Linked DNA regions of Homo sapiens: regions 2, 3, 4, 5 and 6 are each linked to region 1. Evidence: promoter capture Hi-C in 16 types of primary human blood cells and fetal thymus (Javierre and others, 2016). All regions are on one chromosome and are shown on one strand. Each heading gives the region's core, a stretch centred on a gene start or on the middle of the fragment in contact. The rest is flanking DNA. Distances are from core to core; before and after follow the strand shown. Region 1 holds the start of GJB6 (gap junction protein beta 6). Region 2 overlaps CRYL1 (crystallin lambda 1). Region 3 overlaps CRYL1 (crystallin lambda 1). Region 4 overlaps CRYL1 (crystallin lambda 1). Region 5 has its middle 46 kb from the start of MIR4499. Region 6 has its middle 66 kb from the start of MIR4499.

Evidence for each region. Contacts are between HindIII fragments. The CHiCAGO score rates a contact against its expected background, and 5 or more counts as called.
Region 2: a fragment that was not itself captured here is called in contact with the fragment with the promoter of GJB6 in region 1 in 1 of 17 cell types (M1 macrophages); the score reaches 5.4 in M1 macrophages.
Region 3: a fragment that was not itself captured here is called in contact with the fragment with the promoter of GJB6 in region 1 in 2 of 17 cell types (M0 macrophages and M1 macrophages); the score reaches 5.9 in M0 macrophages.
Region 4: a contact is called between a fragment that was not itself captured here and the fragment with the promoter of GJB6 in region 1, in 3 of 17 cell types (M0 macrophages, M1 macrophages and M2 macrophages). The highest score is 8.6, in M0 macrophages.
Region 5: a contact is called between a fragment that was not itself captured here and the fragment with the promoter of GJB6 in region 1, in 2 of 17 cell types (M0 macrophages and M1 macrophages). The highest score is 6.3, in M0 macrophages.
Region 6: a contact is called between a fragment that was not itself captured here and the fragment with the promoter of GJB6 in region 1, in 2 of 17 cell types (M0 macrophages and M2 macrophages). The highest score is 6.6, in M0 macrophages.

Annotation. Positions count from the first base shown.
Region 1 is chr13:20,231,010-20,233,646 of GRCh38, forward strand. GJB6 (gap junction protein beta 6) reads right to left here and starts at 1,310. Exons shown (of 5, transcript NM_001110219.3): 1 at 1,185-1,310; 2 at 373-496. The HindIII fragment of the contact is 2,257 bases long and covers 715-2,637 here.
Region 2 is chr13:20,452,613-20,455,249 of GRCh38, forward strand. The region is part of intron 3 of CRYL1 (crystallin lambda 1); the gene reads right to left. Among named protein-coding and RNA genes, the nearest start is that of MIR4499, 20 kb to the left of the region's middle. The HindIII fragment of the contact is 7,348 bases long and covers 1-2,637 here.
Region 3 is chr13:20,435,509-20,438,145 of GRCh38, forward strand. All of the region lies in intron 4 of CRYL1 (crystallin lambda 1), which reads right to left. Among named protein-coding and RNA genes, the nearest start is that of MIR4499, 3.0 kb to the left of the region's middle. The HindIII fragment of the contact is 4,325 bases long and covers 1-2,637 here.
Region 4 is chr13:20,413,191-20,415,827 of GRCh38, forward strand. It overlaps CRYL1 (crystallin lambda 1), which reads right to left. Exons shown (of 8, transcript NM_015974.3): 6 at 92-197. Among named protein-coding and RNA genes, the nearest start is that of MIR4499, 19 kb to the right of the region's middle. RefSeq lists enhancers at 1-170, 2,088-2,637. The HindIII fragment of the contact is 5,121 bases long and covers 1-2,637 here.
Region 5 is chr13:20,386,944-20,389,580 of GRCh38, forward strand. No RefSeq gene overlaps it. Among named protein-coding and RNA genes, the nearest start is that of MIR4499, 46 kb to the right of the region's middle. The HindIII fragment of the contact is 1,245 bases long and covers 709-1,953 here.
Region 6 is chr13:20,366,911-20,369,547 of GRCh38, forward strand. No RefSeq gene overlaps it. Among named protein-coding and RNA genes, the nearest start is that of MIR4499, 66 kb to the right of the region's middle. The HindIII fragment of the contact is 890 bases long and covers 842-1,731 here.

The DNA.
Region 1 (2,637 bases), core at 60-2,559:
GAACCCCCCTCTCCTCCTTGGCAAGCTTCAAGCAACACCCCCAAAGACGCTGCTGGATCCAAACAACAGACAAAGCTCTCCACAGGAGCAGTTCTGAGCAGCACCCTGCAATTCTAAGGAGACTGCATGGGGGCAGGACATTTTCTTCTAGAACACTGGTTAGATTCTGCTAGAACTGGGGCAAGAAAATAGCTGTATGGCATAAAGTCTACTTGAGGGAAAAGAACAACCCGGCACGGTTACGTTCAATCAGACACTAAACAGAGTGCACGCCCACCCAGGGGACACTGAGGTCGCTGGGCCAGTGTCCCCGCCTGGTTGCAGGTCCCTAACCCCTCCGGGAGTGCAGAGCTGCGGGCAGGCCACACTCACCCTGACCCTTCCTGCTCCCCAGGAAGGGAGGTCAGCCCCGTTTGCAAAACACAGGATGCCCGTGACACCGGAGACAGGTCTTCTTCACCGACAGGAAGTGCCTTCTGGTGCCTGCACGTTTTAACTAAGATGTGTCGCCAATTACTTTTAATTACTGTCGTCCACGCTATTGTCATCAGCATTTCACAAGTTTCTCGGAAGCCCATCACGCAGCCCATACCCTGCGGTTCTCCGGGGACTTATGCATCGGCCCAAGTTGAGGGTTTGTCTGAACTGAAACCCGCATCCTAGACCTGGCTTTCTTCTCCCCAAATCCAAGGGGACACCCCGGTGACCCACAAAAGCTTAGAAAATCCAACACGCAGCAAATGAAACGGGGGAAAGGGGCACCGGCCCTCACTCTGGCCTCTTAGACACACGATATGAAACCTTCATAAAACCTGTTGTACAAGTCAAAGGGGACCACGCTGGGGTAAAAGTCAAACCAGTCCATCCTCGTTCCTCTGCGTACAGAGAGAGGGTCCAGCGCGGGCGGCGCCCACTGCCATCGGGCCGGGGCCGGGGCGCGTGGACAGGAGGGTGCGGATAGAGGCAGATCGGGGGCCCGGTCGCCCCACGTGCGGCCAGACACCCATCCCGGCCGCGCTCTGCCGGCTCTGATCCGGTGCCAGACAGGAGCGACAGGGGCGAGGTGGGGACCAGCCGCCGACCTCACCTGTTTTGTTTTCTTGGAGGAAATTCCTCCGCTGGGGGGCCGAGGTGGCACCGCCCGCTCGCCCCCCGCAAGACCCAGCCGGTCCGCGCCCGCTTACCTGCTCTGCGGCCGGCGGCCCTGGCGCGGGCTCTGCGCGGGGCGGCGCCCTTCGCTCCGGCTGGGCAGGCAGGTCGGGCTCGGGCGCCGCCGGCTGTCGGGCTCTCGTCGGGTTTCGGGTGAAGGCCCCGGCTCCCACCTGCTGCGCCTTTTAACCGCGCCCCACCCCGCCTCTGCCCTGACGCGGCTCGGGCGGGCTGCGGGAGGCGAGCGCTGTCACTCGACGAGCCCCCCGCCCCCACCTACCCGGGGCGCACTAGCCGCTGGGCGCGGACCGTCCCCCTGAGGAGCAAGGAGTGCAGGACCGGGGCTGTCCCTCCGGGGCCGGATGCGCAGAGCGGGGACCTTTTTCCCGTGGCGGGGGCGCAGGGTGGGGGACCCCTAAGAAGTGCACAGTGCGCGGGGCCCTCTTTCCGGCCCTTGGAGGGAACGGGGTACCGGGGATGCAGGGGGTAGGGCTCTCCCTCGGGAGCGCAGAGGGCGGGCCCAGCCCCCTCTGCACGGGTGCAGGTGTGGGGCGCCTGCTCAGGCCCTCGAGGGAACTCTTCCTCCCTAGTGCACCCGTGGGGAGCAGTGTGAGGGGCAGGCTGTGTTTTTGCCAGGACACATCCTCAGTCTTTCTGGGTGATCCAGCCTTCTCATAGCCCGCGGGGTGCACAGACCTCTCCTATAGGAGCCTGGAGGTTCTTTATTAATTAATGACCACTTAGAGGAGGTACAGGGGTTGTTTTTATTAATTACCTCCATCCTTTGAAGACTCCTCCGGGGAAGCGGAGCAGGCCTTCCTCGGGACAGTGCACCAGGAGAGACCACATTGCCTCCCCGCTTTTCAGTCAAGACTAGAAAGCTCAGGGCCAGTACAGGGAGTGGTGCAAGGGCTGGTGGGGTGGAAACGTTGGAAGCTATTTAGGCACCTGGCTTTACAGGTTCAAACCTGTCACGCATCGGACAAAAGATGTGTGACTTGCTTATTCTACAAAACTGTTCGGTAATTAAACGTCCCCACCTAAACCATATGCCACTTGTTGGGTCATATTCTCCCACGAAACAATTAAGATGTCTGTTAAAGGTCATGGAATTTGAGCCAAGACTTCATAAAAATCCGCTTTCCAAAATATTTTATTTGAGGAGAACAAGGTTCTTAAAGAATTTGCCCAAGTCAAGTTTTAAAAACTTTGGGGAGGCCCCTGAAATGGCCTTGAACTTGGAGAGTGGAGAGACACAGAAATCTCTAGGCTTTTTAAATTTATTTATTTATTTATTTATTTATTTATTTATTTATTTATTTTGACTAAGTCTGGCTCTGTTGCCCAGGCTGGAGTGTGGTGGTGTGATCTCAGCTCATTGCAACCTCTGCCTCCCGGGTTCAAGTGATTCTCCTGCCTCAGCTTCCCGAGTCGCTGGGATTACAGGCCCGCACCACCATGCCTGGCTAGGTTTTGTATTTTTAGTAG
Region 2 (2,637 bases), core at 93-2,592, 220 kb after region 1:
ATACTATATTGATGGATACATGTCAATATACATTTGTCAAAACCTATAGGATGCATAATACCAAAAGTGAACTCTAATATAAACTATGGACTTTGGGTGATTAATATGTGTCAATGTAGGTTCATCAACTGTAATAAATGTGCCATTCTGGTGGGAGTTGCTGATAATGGGGGAGGCTATACATGCGTAGGGGCAGAGGCTTTATGGGAAATCTCTGTCCCTTCTTCTTAATTTTCCTGTGGAACTAAAGCTGCTCTAAAAAAGTGTTATATTGGATTTAACATATTTTGGGTATTAAATACAATTTCTAAAATGTTTAAATTTAGATGAATTTTAAAATTAGTTTTTTCTAATTTCATAATGTAAAAACAGAATTGAAAGGAGAAATAAACAAATCCACGATTACTGCTGGAGACCTCAATAACTTTCTTTCTCAGAACAAGATTTAAAAATCAATAAGATTATAGCAGAGCTGAATAACATTATCAACCAACTTGATCTACTTGACATTCAGAGACCTCTCCACCCAAGAGTAGAATGCCTGACTTTTCCAAGTTCACATGTAATATTTACCAAGATAGATTATAGTCTGGCCATGAAACAAAACTTAAAAGAATAGAAATCAAACAAAGTATGTTCTCTGGCCATAATTGAATTGAAGTGGAAGTCTATGAGAAAAGAATATCTAGGAAATCCCCAAATATGTGGAAATTAACCAAGACACTTCCAAATAATCTACAGTCAAGGTGAAATTCTCATGGGAAATTAGAATATTTTGAAATATTTTGAATATTTTGAAATATTCTAATATATTTGAATATTTTGAAATATTCTAATATATTTGAATATTTTGAAAATGAAAACACAATATATTAAATCATTGGATTCAACTAAAGCAATGCTGAGAGGAAAATGTATAGCATTATATATTTACATTAATAAAGAAGAATATCTCAAATCGTTAATCCAACCCTCTATCTTCAGAAACTGAAAAAAAGCAAATTAAATACAAAGAAAGGAAGAAGAAAACAATAAAAGTAAAAGCAGAAATCAATGAAATTGAAAACAGAAAAACAACAGAAACAAATCAATGAAATCAAATCTGGTTTCTTAGGGAAAAAACAGTAACACTGACAAACTTCAAGGCAGACTGACCAATAAAAAGAGAGAAGACACAAATTGCCAATATGAAGAACGAAAGAGGGGACATCACTGCCAGTCCTATAGTCATTAAAAGAATAATAAAGCAATATTATGAATAATTATTTATGCCAAGAAATCCTACAACTTAGAACAAATGGACTGATTACTTGAAAGACACAAACTGCCAAAACTCACTTAAGAAATAATAGAAAACCTCATTAGTCTATTTATAGGAAAGTAATTAAATTTGTAGTTCAAAATCTATCAACACAGAAAACTCCAGGCCCAGGGTTTGCCACATTCAGCCAAACATTTAAAGAACTACTGCCAATCTTTACAATCTCTTTCAGAAAATAAAGAAGAAACATTTCCCAACTCATTCTATGAAGGCAGAATCACCGTAATATCAAAATATTAGACAAAGACATTACATGGGGAAAAAAAATCTATTCCAAACACATATGCAAAAAAAATCTCAACAAAAAAGGATAGTGCGTTATGACCAACTGGAGTTTATCCCAGGAATGCAAGACTGGTTCAACTTTTTAAAATCAATCAATGTCATTCATGATATAAACAGATTTAAAAAGAACAATTATGTGATCATCCCAATAGATGTAAAAAAAAAAATCAGTTCACAAAATTCAACCCCCATTCGTGTTTGTTTTTTTTTTTTTTTGAGATGGAGTCTTGCTCTTGTCGCCCAGGCTGGAGTGCAGTGGTGCGATCTCGGCTCACTGCAAGCTCCGCCTCTGAAGTTCACGCCATTCTTCTGCCTCAGCCTCCTGAGTAGCTGGGACTACACGCGCCTGCCACCACACCCGGCTAATTTTTTTCGTATTTTTAGTAGAGACGGGGTTTCACCGTGTTCGCCAGGATGGCCTCCATCTCCTGACCTCATGATCCACCCGCCTCGGCCTCCCAAAGTGCTGGGATTACAGGCGTGAGCCACCGCACCCGACCCATTCATGATATTTTTTAAAACTCTCAGCAATCTAGGAATAGATGGGAATCCCTTTAACATGATGAAAGGTAGCTATTATTCCTATGCTAACATCACACTTAATGGTGAAAAATTCAAGGCTTTCCTCCTTAACATTGGGAATAAGGCAAGCTGTCTCACTCTGTCGCCCAGGCTGGACAGATTCTATTCCGGAATAGAATTTTATTCCACATCATATTGATGTCCTAGCCAGTGCAATAAGGCAAGAGAAAGATATAAAAAGCATATAGATTGAAAATGAAACTGTCTCTATTCACATAAGACATAAATGCCTACATAGAAAATCCCAAAGAATCTATGAAGAAGTCCAAGGACTAGTGAGCTCAGCAAGATTGCAGGATACAGGTCAATATAAAAAAACTGTATTTCTACACAGTAGCAATTAATAATGGAAAATCAAAAAAAATGTTAAATACCATTCACAATAGCACACATACACAAGAATTACTTAGGCATAAATCTAAAAAAATGCCTTAAATATGCAGGAAACC
Region 3 (2,637 bases), core at 80-2,579, 200 kb after region 1:
GCCCAAGAGGTCAATCTTGTCAATAAGGTCGGGTGCCCCTTGAATTTACCACAGTAGAGGGGAGGAGAGGAGGCGAGACAGGAGAGGAGGCAGCTCCCCCGCCCCAAACCTTCCATGTGGGAGTGTGCGAGGTGGACTCGGAAACACGCCCCCGAAAGGGTTCGACAGATACAACGGCAGCGCAGCGCAGGGGCCTGGGCCTGCGCAGGCCGGCGGAGCACAAGGGACGCATTCTTCCCCGCCGCCCGGGCCCCATGTGACCGCGCCGACAGCGCGGCTGCCCACAGAGACTCCCTTCACCCCCGCTCCGGGAGCAACCAAAACGGCGAGGCCCACAGGGCCGACAGCGCCCTCGCGGGAGGCAGCCGGGCTGGGGCCTCTTGCCAGCCCTCGGTGTTCGATGCTTCATGGGTAGCCCATCCTCTCGGCGGCGCGCTCGCAGGGAGGGCTCAAAGGCAGCTCGGAGCGGCCGCAGGGCCGTGCAGATGTGCAAAGAGACGCACAGAGCACGGGCGCTTTGCAGACAGCAAGCCCATACATCCAATATTTACCACCAATACCAGGGCAGATGACTTCGGTGTGAGACGTGAGGTGAGTTCGAAAAGGCCACGCACAAGCAAGGGGCGGGGGAGCGGGCTAACTGGTGGCCTCTCCCCCAACGCCCACCGCACGCCCCAGTCTGCCAGCCGCGGCCCCCTTCCCAAGCAGGCCTGTCCATACAGCACAGTACTTGGTGGGCTCCGAAGACCCCACCAGCCCTGTCGGACCATCGCCTTCCCAGACTGAACTAAGGAAGAGAAAAAAGCAGGGAGCCTCTTTGTAAAGTGTGGCTAAACTATCAGTAGAAAACTGCCACTCTGTCAATGCTAACATAGAGCTCAGTAAGGACTGAGACTGCAGTGCAACATGCACACCGTTGTCACCCACAGGCCCCAGCCGTCACATTCTCCTCCCTCAGCCCCTCCACGTGGGAATTCGGGAGTCACTGCCACGAGGAGTTGAGGAAACAGCACAAAAGACACTGGAGAAGAAAATGTCCACAACAGAGCCGGGCCCAGCCTCTTCCTGGGCCTTCAGTGTGGCCGTCAGCAGCTCTAGTCCTGGAAGCCCACCCTAAAACCCAGCCTGAACTCCTGCGCTGGGAGTACGAGCCCGCCTGGCCAGCGCCTTTCCCCACTCACTGAGGGAACACGTGGCCGTGCAACGAGGGTTGCAGGCTTCTCTGTGTGGGCAGAGACAAGCAACCTTTCCAATTTGCTGAATATCCACTTTGGCACGGCATGAACAAGCCTCCTTTTTCTTCATCCTATTTTTGGCCCAGGCAGAAATCACTAATGATTGAAACAAAGGGCCCCAAGCAGGGACTGGGGGCTGCAGGGTGGGCTCCTAGCTGGCCTGGGGGTGCTTCTCGGAAACTGGTTCCTCAGAGATTACAAATGGGTCTTGATTCTGTAGGGACTGCCTGTCCAGTCCCCTAGAGGTCCCGTGGGGTGAGCAAGAGGTGGGGCCAGGTGTGGTGCCTTTGTCTTGTAATTCCATCACTTTGGGGAGGCTGAGACAGGAGGCTTGCTTGAGGCCAGAAGTTCAAGGCTGCAGTGAGCTTTGATGGCACCACTGCTCTCCAGCCTGGGTGAAAGAGCCACAGAGAAAGAATAAAAAAAGAGAGAGAGAGAGAGGTGGGCAGCTGGAACATAGAGGAAAGAAAGGGAAAGGTCCAAAGATGGCTAACTTGGGTTATTTGATTTGCTTTAATTAACATCGGTTTTGTTTAAAAATAATTTGTAACAATAAGGAAGATTAATTTTTTTTTTTTTTTTGAGATGGAGTCTCGCTCTGTCGCCCAGGCTGGAGTGCAGTGGCGCGATCTCGGCTCACTGCAAGCTCCACCTCCTGGGTTCACACCATTCTCCTGCCTCAGCCTCCCGAGTAGCTGGGACTACAGGCGACCGCCACCTCACCTGGCTAATTTTTTGTATTTTTAGTAGAGACGGGGTTTCACCGTGTTAGCCAGGATGGTTTCGATCTCCTGACCTCCTAATCCACCCACCTCGGCCTCCCAAAGGGGAAGATTAATTTTTAAAATAGGGTCTGGACTTTATGCTGTTTCATTAAATAAGTGAGCAATAGTGGGATGGAAAAAGAGTAGGAAGGAGGGAGAGAAGTGTCATTATTCAACAGTTACCAACTCCTGCTGGTCAAGGGACTGGGCTGGGTGTGAGGGAGAAGAAAGTGACTCAGGTGTCCTCTCACCCATCTGGCAATTTAAAATTAAAGAGATGCAGTAAACGTCTCGTCAAATAACTCAGGAGGTATTTTCTGAGCAACTTTATTTAGACTAGTTTTGTTTCAAACTAACTTAGAAGCAAGAACATGGGTTAGAAATTAGGAGGCTGACAGCTTCCACTGAAGCAATCAAGGAGCAACCTAGAAAGTGCTGAGGTCTCCAGGAGCCCTGTCCGTGGACATGTATATGTCACCAAAGCAAAGGCACGACAGGCTTCTCGGGACTTGCTTTCAATTAGGGTCCCTCGTAATGCTAATCTCACTCGTAATTGAGTGGTAACCAAATGTGACTGGTTCTCTTCTATTTTTATGCATCTCAGCCTCCTTATTTTATAACCATTCCTCATTCTTTCC
Region 4 (2,637 bases), core at 41-2,540, 180 kb after region 1:
CAGTTGTAAGAAAAGGCAAAATGTGACTGTTTACAAAACCCATGACAACACTAAATAGAATGGAATTCCCATCCTGGCCCCAGATGCATACCTTCTGCATTGAGATGCATGGTTTCCAGGGGTCCAATGAATGCATACCGCATGCCCAACCCTTCTGACATGACAAGGTCCAGGTCACTAGGAGACACGATTCCTTCCTACGTGGAGAAATTGGGCGGCATAGATGAGTTTTGTAAAAAGACAATTTCATGACCACCACTTCCATCCTAACTTCTTTAGAGCAGGATCCCAAAATCTTCTCCAAAGCACTATACAGGGTGAGTACCACTTACCGAATATGCTTATGACCAGACATGTTTTGGATGGCTGATATTTTTTAGATTTTGGAATATTAGCATATGCATAATGAGATATTTTGGGGATGGGAGCTGAGACTAAACACAAAATCTATTTCTGTTTCATATACACCTAGCCTGAAAGTAATTTTATATAATATTTTCAATAATTTTGTGCATGAAATAGTTTGTGTACACAAAACCATCAGAAAAGCAAAGGTATCACTATCTCATTTCAGTGCTCAAAAAGTTTTGGATTTTGGAGCATTTTGGATTTTGGATTTTCAGATTAGGGATGTTCAACCTATGATAGTGTTTTGATTGAATTTTGCATGACAAAACTATAATATTATCATATGTTATAAATGGCTTGGCGTGGTGGCTCACACCTGTAATCCCAGCACTTTCGGAGGCTGAGGTGGGGGATCACCTGAGGTCAGGAGTTCGAGACCAGCCTGGCCAACATGGTGAAACCCTGTCTCTACTAAAAATACAAAAAATTCGCCGGGCATGGTGGTGCATGCCTCTAGTCCCAGCTACTCAGGAGGCTGAGGCACGAGAATCACTTGAACCCAGGAGGCAGAAGTTGCAGTGAGCTGAGATCATGCCACTGCACTCCAGCCTGGGCATCAGAGCAAGACTCTGTTTCAAAATAAATAAATAAATAAAAATTAAAAAAATACACACACACACACACACACACATATGTATACACTAAAAAGAGATTTTTTGTGTGTGTGTGTGTGTGTGTGAAATGGTCAAACACAAATTCACCTTTTCCATCCCTGCAATCTACTAGGGGTTGAAATCAATTCCTCTTGACCTCCCTGCCTCCTTAGCTCACCCTACAACCTACGGACCGCCTGCAGCTGCAGGGAGTGAGAGAAGCTGACGACAAGGGGAGCGTGAGGACGGGGCATCGTAGTAAAAGGACATGAAGGATTTTCTAGATTTCTGCCTAGGACCCAGGGGGGAGTAAGATTAGAGCCATCAAAAGACGTGGGAAGGTGCTCTCCAGGCTTCACATGCCTGCAAGTCCGGCCTTGTTCAGCTTTTAATGAGTTCGTAAAAAGTGATATTCTTTGATGAAATGCAGCTTAGAACCATGGGTTTGTTTGCTAAGGTGGGGCCCTGGAATCTTCTGCAATGTAAATTGCAAAGCAAGAGGCAAGTTGTTATGTATTAAGGTTAGACGTCTGATCAGCCACCTGTGTTCCTTGGCCTCACGTGGCTTTGGGATGGAGGCAGGCAAGCGCAGATAATGATCTGCAAGAGCTGCGCTCCACTGAGGTCCCTCCCGTCAGAGGATGCCTCCCCCTTGGGCATTTCCACTGTCAGGAGGGCGGACGGAGGGAAGCCGCCACCTTTTCCCCTACGCCTTCACGGCTCAGACAGGCAGCACTCCCGCGGAATCCGCCGCCCCAGGTCTCATCTGAGCGCTGTCTTTCACCAGAGCTCTGTAGGACTGAGGCAGTAGCGCTGGCCCGCCTGCGAGAGCCCGACCGTGGACGATGCGTCGCGCCCTTCCCATCGCGGCCTGGGCGGGCCCGCCTGCCCTCGGCTGAGCCCGGTTTCCCTACCCCGGGGCACCTCCCCTCGCCCGCACCCGGCCCCAGTCCCTCCCAGGCTTGCGGGTAGAGCCTGTCTTTGCCCAGAAGGCCGTCTCCAAGCTGGGGGCTTGCTCCGCCCGGAGGGCTCTGCGGGGACCCTGGCACAGCGGCCTGCAGGGAGGCACCCTCTGCCCTGCTGCGAGCCTGGGGCGCCTGGGCCTGGCCTCGAGGTTCCTGGGCCTCCAGGGCAGCCCCAGGGGTCCCCCGAGAAGCGAGAAAAGGGGTTCGAAACCCCCGCCGTGCCCCGCAACCGGCTGCGGCGGGCGACAGCCAGGTGCCTCAGGTCCGTGTGCTGGCTTGGACACCGCCCTGCGTCTGCAGAGAGCGCGGCGGTGAAGCGGGAGCAGGCGGCCTGGCCCAGGAGCCAGGACGGCCACAGCCACGCCACCACCGGCGAGGGCGAGGGCCAGGGCCACTCACTGTGACCCGCGACTCCCTTTTAGAGAGCCACTTTGCGTTTCGTTTTGTTTGCGCACACGGGACACAAGCATATCGAGGCTGAACAAGCCACAGTCCACGTTTCCAGGAGAATTACAAAGCAAACGCTTGGCCTCGCCTGCCGCAGACTCCGCCCGCTTCTAGAGGCCCGCACCCTGACTCCTGCAATTGCGGCTTTCCCGCTTTTCAGACTGGCCGCCCGTGTTCACATTCCTCAGCTGCAGCGTTTGCTGCTGGCCCATTTCTAATCTTCC
Region 5 (2,637 bases), core at 81-2,580, 160 kb after region 1:
TCAGCAGCATGAAAACAGACTAATTCAGTGAATGATGCTGAGGTTTGGGGTAGAGATGCCATCACCCAGGTAGCAAGTATAGTACCAAACAGGTAGTTTTTCAACCCATGCTCCCCATTCTCCTCCCCTCCACTCCCCACTCTAGTCTGTGTATGCTCAATGTTTAGCTCCCACTTAGAAGTGAGAACATGCAGTATTTGATTTTCTGTTCTGCAGTTATTATTCTTACTGACGCCAACACCATTCGCTCTTTGGGCATTAGCACCCCCGCCCCGGGTTGGCTTTGAGCTGACCTGACTTGCCCCGCTGCTCTGGGGAGCTTCTTTGCTTAACAGTATCCTCTTTCTGAGTTTTTCAGATGGTGGCCCAGTACTTTCTCACAATCTTGTTTTATCTCCTCTCTGCCTTTAAGATTTTTATAGATTCATTTTTGTTTGTTTGGCCTTGGTAGAAGTTAAGATACCTGATCATAGGTTTATTTAACAAGTATTTGCTGAGAACCTGCTTAGTGCTAGATGCTACAGGAAACAAGATGATGAATCAAGAATGACTGATGCCCTTAAAGAATTTGCAGTCAGCTAGGGGAGTCGGAAACAAGAGCACCGTGGCTGCTGGGCAGGATGGAGACGTGATGCATGTAAGTTCAAGCAGAGTTTCAAGGAAATTGGCAGGGACGGGGCAGGCTTCAACAGGGAAGTGGCGCCGGGAAGCTTGAGCAGGATTTGGGCATTCTGACATGGGGAAGGCATTACCTTCTTCCCCTTTAGTTGTGTCTGGCACATGGACTCAGCAGAGGCTGTTGGGAATGTTCTGAGATCACATACCAGCAGCCTCCTAACCCAAGCCGACCCAAAAGAGACATGCCCCCAAGAAAGGATTCCGGACTGCACCTGGTGGCCTGTATTTCTAGTATTTCACAATATTCACAAGTCTTCTAGCCTCTACACAAAAATACCAAGTGCAGAAGAGGAAACATTTTCTGACCACAACCACTCCTCTGTGGAGCCTCTTAGATTAATCCTCACAAGAGGCCTAAGACAAATTTTCATCTAATATATACTTTTCTACAGCCAGCTCCTGGAATAAAAGAGAGAAAGTAGAAGTGAAGTTATTCTGGGAATTATTCGGGTGAAAACAAAACCAAAACAAAACAGAAAAAGTAGCATGGTTTATCTGAGGACACAAAATTAGAAGGCAATTTTTCCAAAAAGGTAAGAAGATCATTTCAGATCTTCACATGGGGGGAAAAAAGAATGTCAGCCCAGAGCACAGGACTGGGCAGGAACCCCAGTGCCCTGTGGGCCAGGCTGGCTGGGAGCCCCCACGCTGGGCCCAGGAAAGGCCAGGCTGGCTTTAGTGTGGCCCAGGTCCCAGAGCCTTCCCCTGGTTTGGTTAGGGAGCTATGGGGCCAAAAGGAGCCAGACTTTTAGGGAGGAAATTGAATTCTCAGTCAGTATGCTGGGTGGGGCGGTGATCTAACACACTTGGGCCTAGAGATCTAAAAAATGCAGAAACACCAAGGCTAAGGGAAAGTGAACAGAAGGAGCCCTACTGCAGCCAAATACAAACCACCTTCCCCAGAGGAGGCTAACCTCTTCACCAAGGAAAAAAAGCAAAGGCCACCAGCTGAACTTGAAGGGCACCTGGGACCCACTGCCCTTCCTCTCTGCTTCTTCCCTCCTTTGTCTCTCCCTTCCCTTTCCTCCCCTCCCCAAGTCTGCTACTTTCCCTGAACCCTGGACTGATGTCCTGGACAGATGTCCTGGACAGGAGGGACTTTCAAGCAGAGTGCCAGGCATCCTTGTTGTGTCCGGAATTGGTTCCTTCCAGTAGGTTTGTGGTCTCGCTGACTTCAAGAATGAAGCCGTGGACCTTCGCGGTGTTACAGCTCTTAAAGGTGGCATGGACTCAAAAAGTGAGCAGCAGCAAGATTTATTGTGAGCAAAAGAACAAAGCTTCCACAGCATGGAAGGGGACCCCAGCAAGTTGCCGCTGCTGGCTGGAGTGGCCAGCTTTTAGTCCCTTATTTGTCCCTGCCCATGTCTTGCTGGTTGGTCCATTTTACAGAGTGCTGATTGGTCCATTTTACAAACCTCTAGCTAACTACAGAGTGCTGATTGGTGCGTTTTTACAGAGCACTGATTGGTGCATTTTACAAACCTCTAGCTAGCTACAGAGCACCCATTGGTGCGTTTTTACAGAGCACTGATGGGTGCATTTTTTTTTTTTTTTGAGACAGCCTTGCTGTGTCACCCAGGCTGGAGTGCAGTGGTGTCATCTCTGCTCACTGCAAGCTCCGCCTCCCAGGTTCACGCCATTCTCCTGCCTCAGCCTCCCGAGTAGCTGGGACTACAGGCGCCCGTCACCAAGCCCGGCTAATTTTTTGTATTTTTAGTGAGACAGGGTTTCACCATGTTAGCCAGGATGGTCTCGATCTCCTGACCTCGTGATCCACCCGCCTCAGCCTCCCAAAGTGTTGGGATTACAGGCATGAGCCACCATGCCTGGCCTGATCGGTGCATTTTACAAACCACTTGTAAGACAGAAAAGTTCTCCAAGTCCCCACATTACCCAGGAAGTCCAGCTGGCTTCGCCTCTCATTGTGACATGGGAATCAATCCTGTCCAGAGCCACCTT
Region 6 (2,637 bases), core at 37-2,536, 140 kb after region 1:
AAGAACAATTGAAATGTGCACAGTAAGAATTCAAAGTAAAGGCCAGGCACAGTTTCTCACGCCTGTAATCCCAGCACTTTGGGAGGCTGAGGCAGGTGGATCATTTGAGGCCAGGAGTTCAAGACCAGCCGGGCCAATGTGGCGAAACACCATCTCTACTAAAAATACAAAAATTACCCAGGCGTGGTTGTGCACGCCTGTAATCCCAGCTACTCAGGAGGCTGAGGCATGAGAATCGCTTGAACAGAGGAGACTGCAGTGAGCTGAGATCATGCCACTGCACTCCAGCCTGGGCGACAGAGTGAGACTCTGTCTCAAAAACAACAACAACAACAAAAAAAAAAAAAAAAAAAAAAAAGAAAGAAAGAAAGAAATATGAAGGCCCATGTCAATGCCATGAATAAATCTTATTTTATTTAATATTTATTTAAAAGAATTCGCAATAAAAACACATCTTCATTGGTTTAGCGTTGTTGTAAAGGAATACCAGGGATGGGTTATTTATAAATAAAAAAGGTTTATTTGGCTCATGATTGTGATGTCGACAAAAGTTTGAGTTTGGGCGTCATCTGGCAAGGGCCGCAGGCTGCTTCCACTCGTGGCAGAAGGTGAACAGGCGCAGGTGTGTGTGGAGATTACATGGAGAGACAGGGAAAGAGAGGGAGAGAGAGGGAGGGAGAGGGAGCCAGTGCCAGGCTGTTTTTAGCAACCAACTCGCATGGGAACTAACAGAGCAAGAACTCACTCATTACCTTAAGGAGGGCGCCAAGCCATTCGTGAAGGACGCGCCCCCAGGACCCAAGCACCTCCCACCAGTTCCCACCTCCAACACTGGGGCTCAAGCTTCAACATGAGGTTTGGGGGACAAACAACCAAACTATAGCAAACACATTGAGAGCATGTCCAATAAGACGACTGAAGTTTGGGATAATGCTGCACCTTGGTCTGGGTTCTTAGTGCAGACTCTAATACAAGTGAGGTTCTAAAATTCACACACCCTCTGTCCATCCATCCCATCGCTGGGATATTCACTAGGATAAAATTGTGATTTATCATGAGCTTGAGCTAGAACAGCCAACACCTAGATTTCCTTAAATCTGTTTCTATTTCTTGCTCATTCCTCCTTTTCCATGCAAATTCTTATTTGTAGTAAGTAGCGCCACTCTTTTCCAGACCCCAGGTGTAATTAACTGTAGCAAAATGTGGTAAAAGACCGTATTTGTGGCTCTGAATATTAAAATCCAAAGGTGACCAGAAAATAATTGTTAACAGTTCTGGGTGGTTGTGCCAGAAAAATGACTCTGGCTCAGGAGGTGACATTTTTCAGACAGTGGTAAGGGAGGCTCGGTGATCCATTTGGTTCTGATGTTTAGGATAGGAGAGTGATCCTGGAGACTACATAGGATTTGGTTTTTTTTTTTTTTTTTTTTTTTAAAGTTCCATACCAAAATGTAGGCCTGTGGATGCTGATGGAACTCCAGGTAACACAGTGCCCAAAGTAGGCGTTTGTGTGCTTAGGTTACCACTGGGTCATAAAACAGCCACGTGGCAACTCCAGCCTTGGCTCGGGAGTTTGGTATAAGAGGAAAGTTGGTGGCTTTGCATTGGGTGCATGTTCATGTTTCGCCTGGATCATATCATTGTTCATCTTCCCCATTGAAGGCCCACCCCACAGGTAGTTTTTGCACTTTTTGATCTTGGCACCAGCAAAGCTGTTGCACGTGAGACACAAGCTTTAAGGTGGGAACCTGACGTAGGTCTTCAGTGGCCCAAATCAGGAAAGGAGTCGCTTCCCTGACCCGGGCACAGTTAAATAGATCCACAGCCCAGTGTGGACAACTTACTCTAGTTGACAACATGTGGTGGAGAAAAGGCCAAGGTTTCCTGAACAGCATATCTCTTCTAGAAAGAGCAATACTTCCTAAAAGTGCTGAGGTTGCCACAGTTGAAAAGTTCAGAAAAATGAAATTCAAGTGTAAATTTGTATGAAAGAGAGGGAGAAGGGTTCTTCCAGGAACCATTCAGAAAATGATGAGATAAATCACAGACTGAGAGAAAGTAGTTGCAGGACACATAATCTTCCAAGGACTTCTATCCAAAATATTTCAGAACTCTTACAAATCTCATAAACAAGCAAGCCATTAAAAATGGAAATTCAGAGGCTGAAGAGAGACAATCACTTGAAGACAGGAGTTAGAGACCAGCTTGGGCAACATAGTGAGACTCTATCTCTAAAAAAAGTTTTAAATAAAAGTTTAAAACAATTTTAATTTAAAAAATTGGAATCAGAAAATAGAAGAAGATATACATATGGCCAAAAAGCACATGAAAAGATCCTCAACATCATCATCAGAAAATGTTAATTACCATGTTAGGGTATCTTCATATCCACTAGAATGGCTAAAATTGAGAAGATCAGTGTATTAAGTGCTGACAAAGATATGGAGCAACTGAAACTCTTTTTTTTTTTCCAGACAGGGTCTCGCTCTGTTGCCCAGGCTACAGTGCAATGGCACAATCATGGATCACTGCAGTCTCAACCTCCTAGGCTCAAGCAATCTTCCCACATCAGCCTCCTGAGTAGCTGGGACCACAGGTGCGCACCACCAGACCCCACTGATTTTATTATTTTTACTT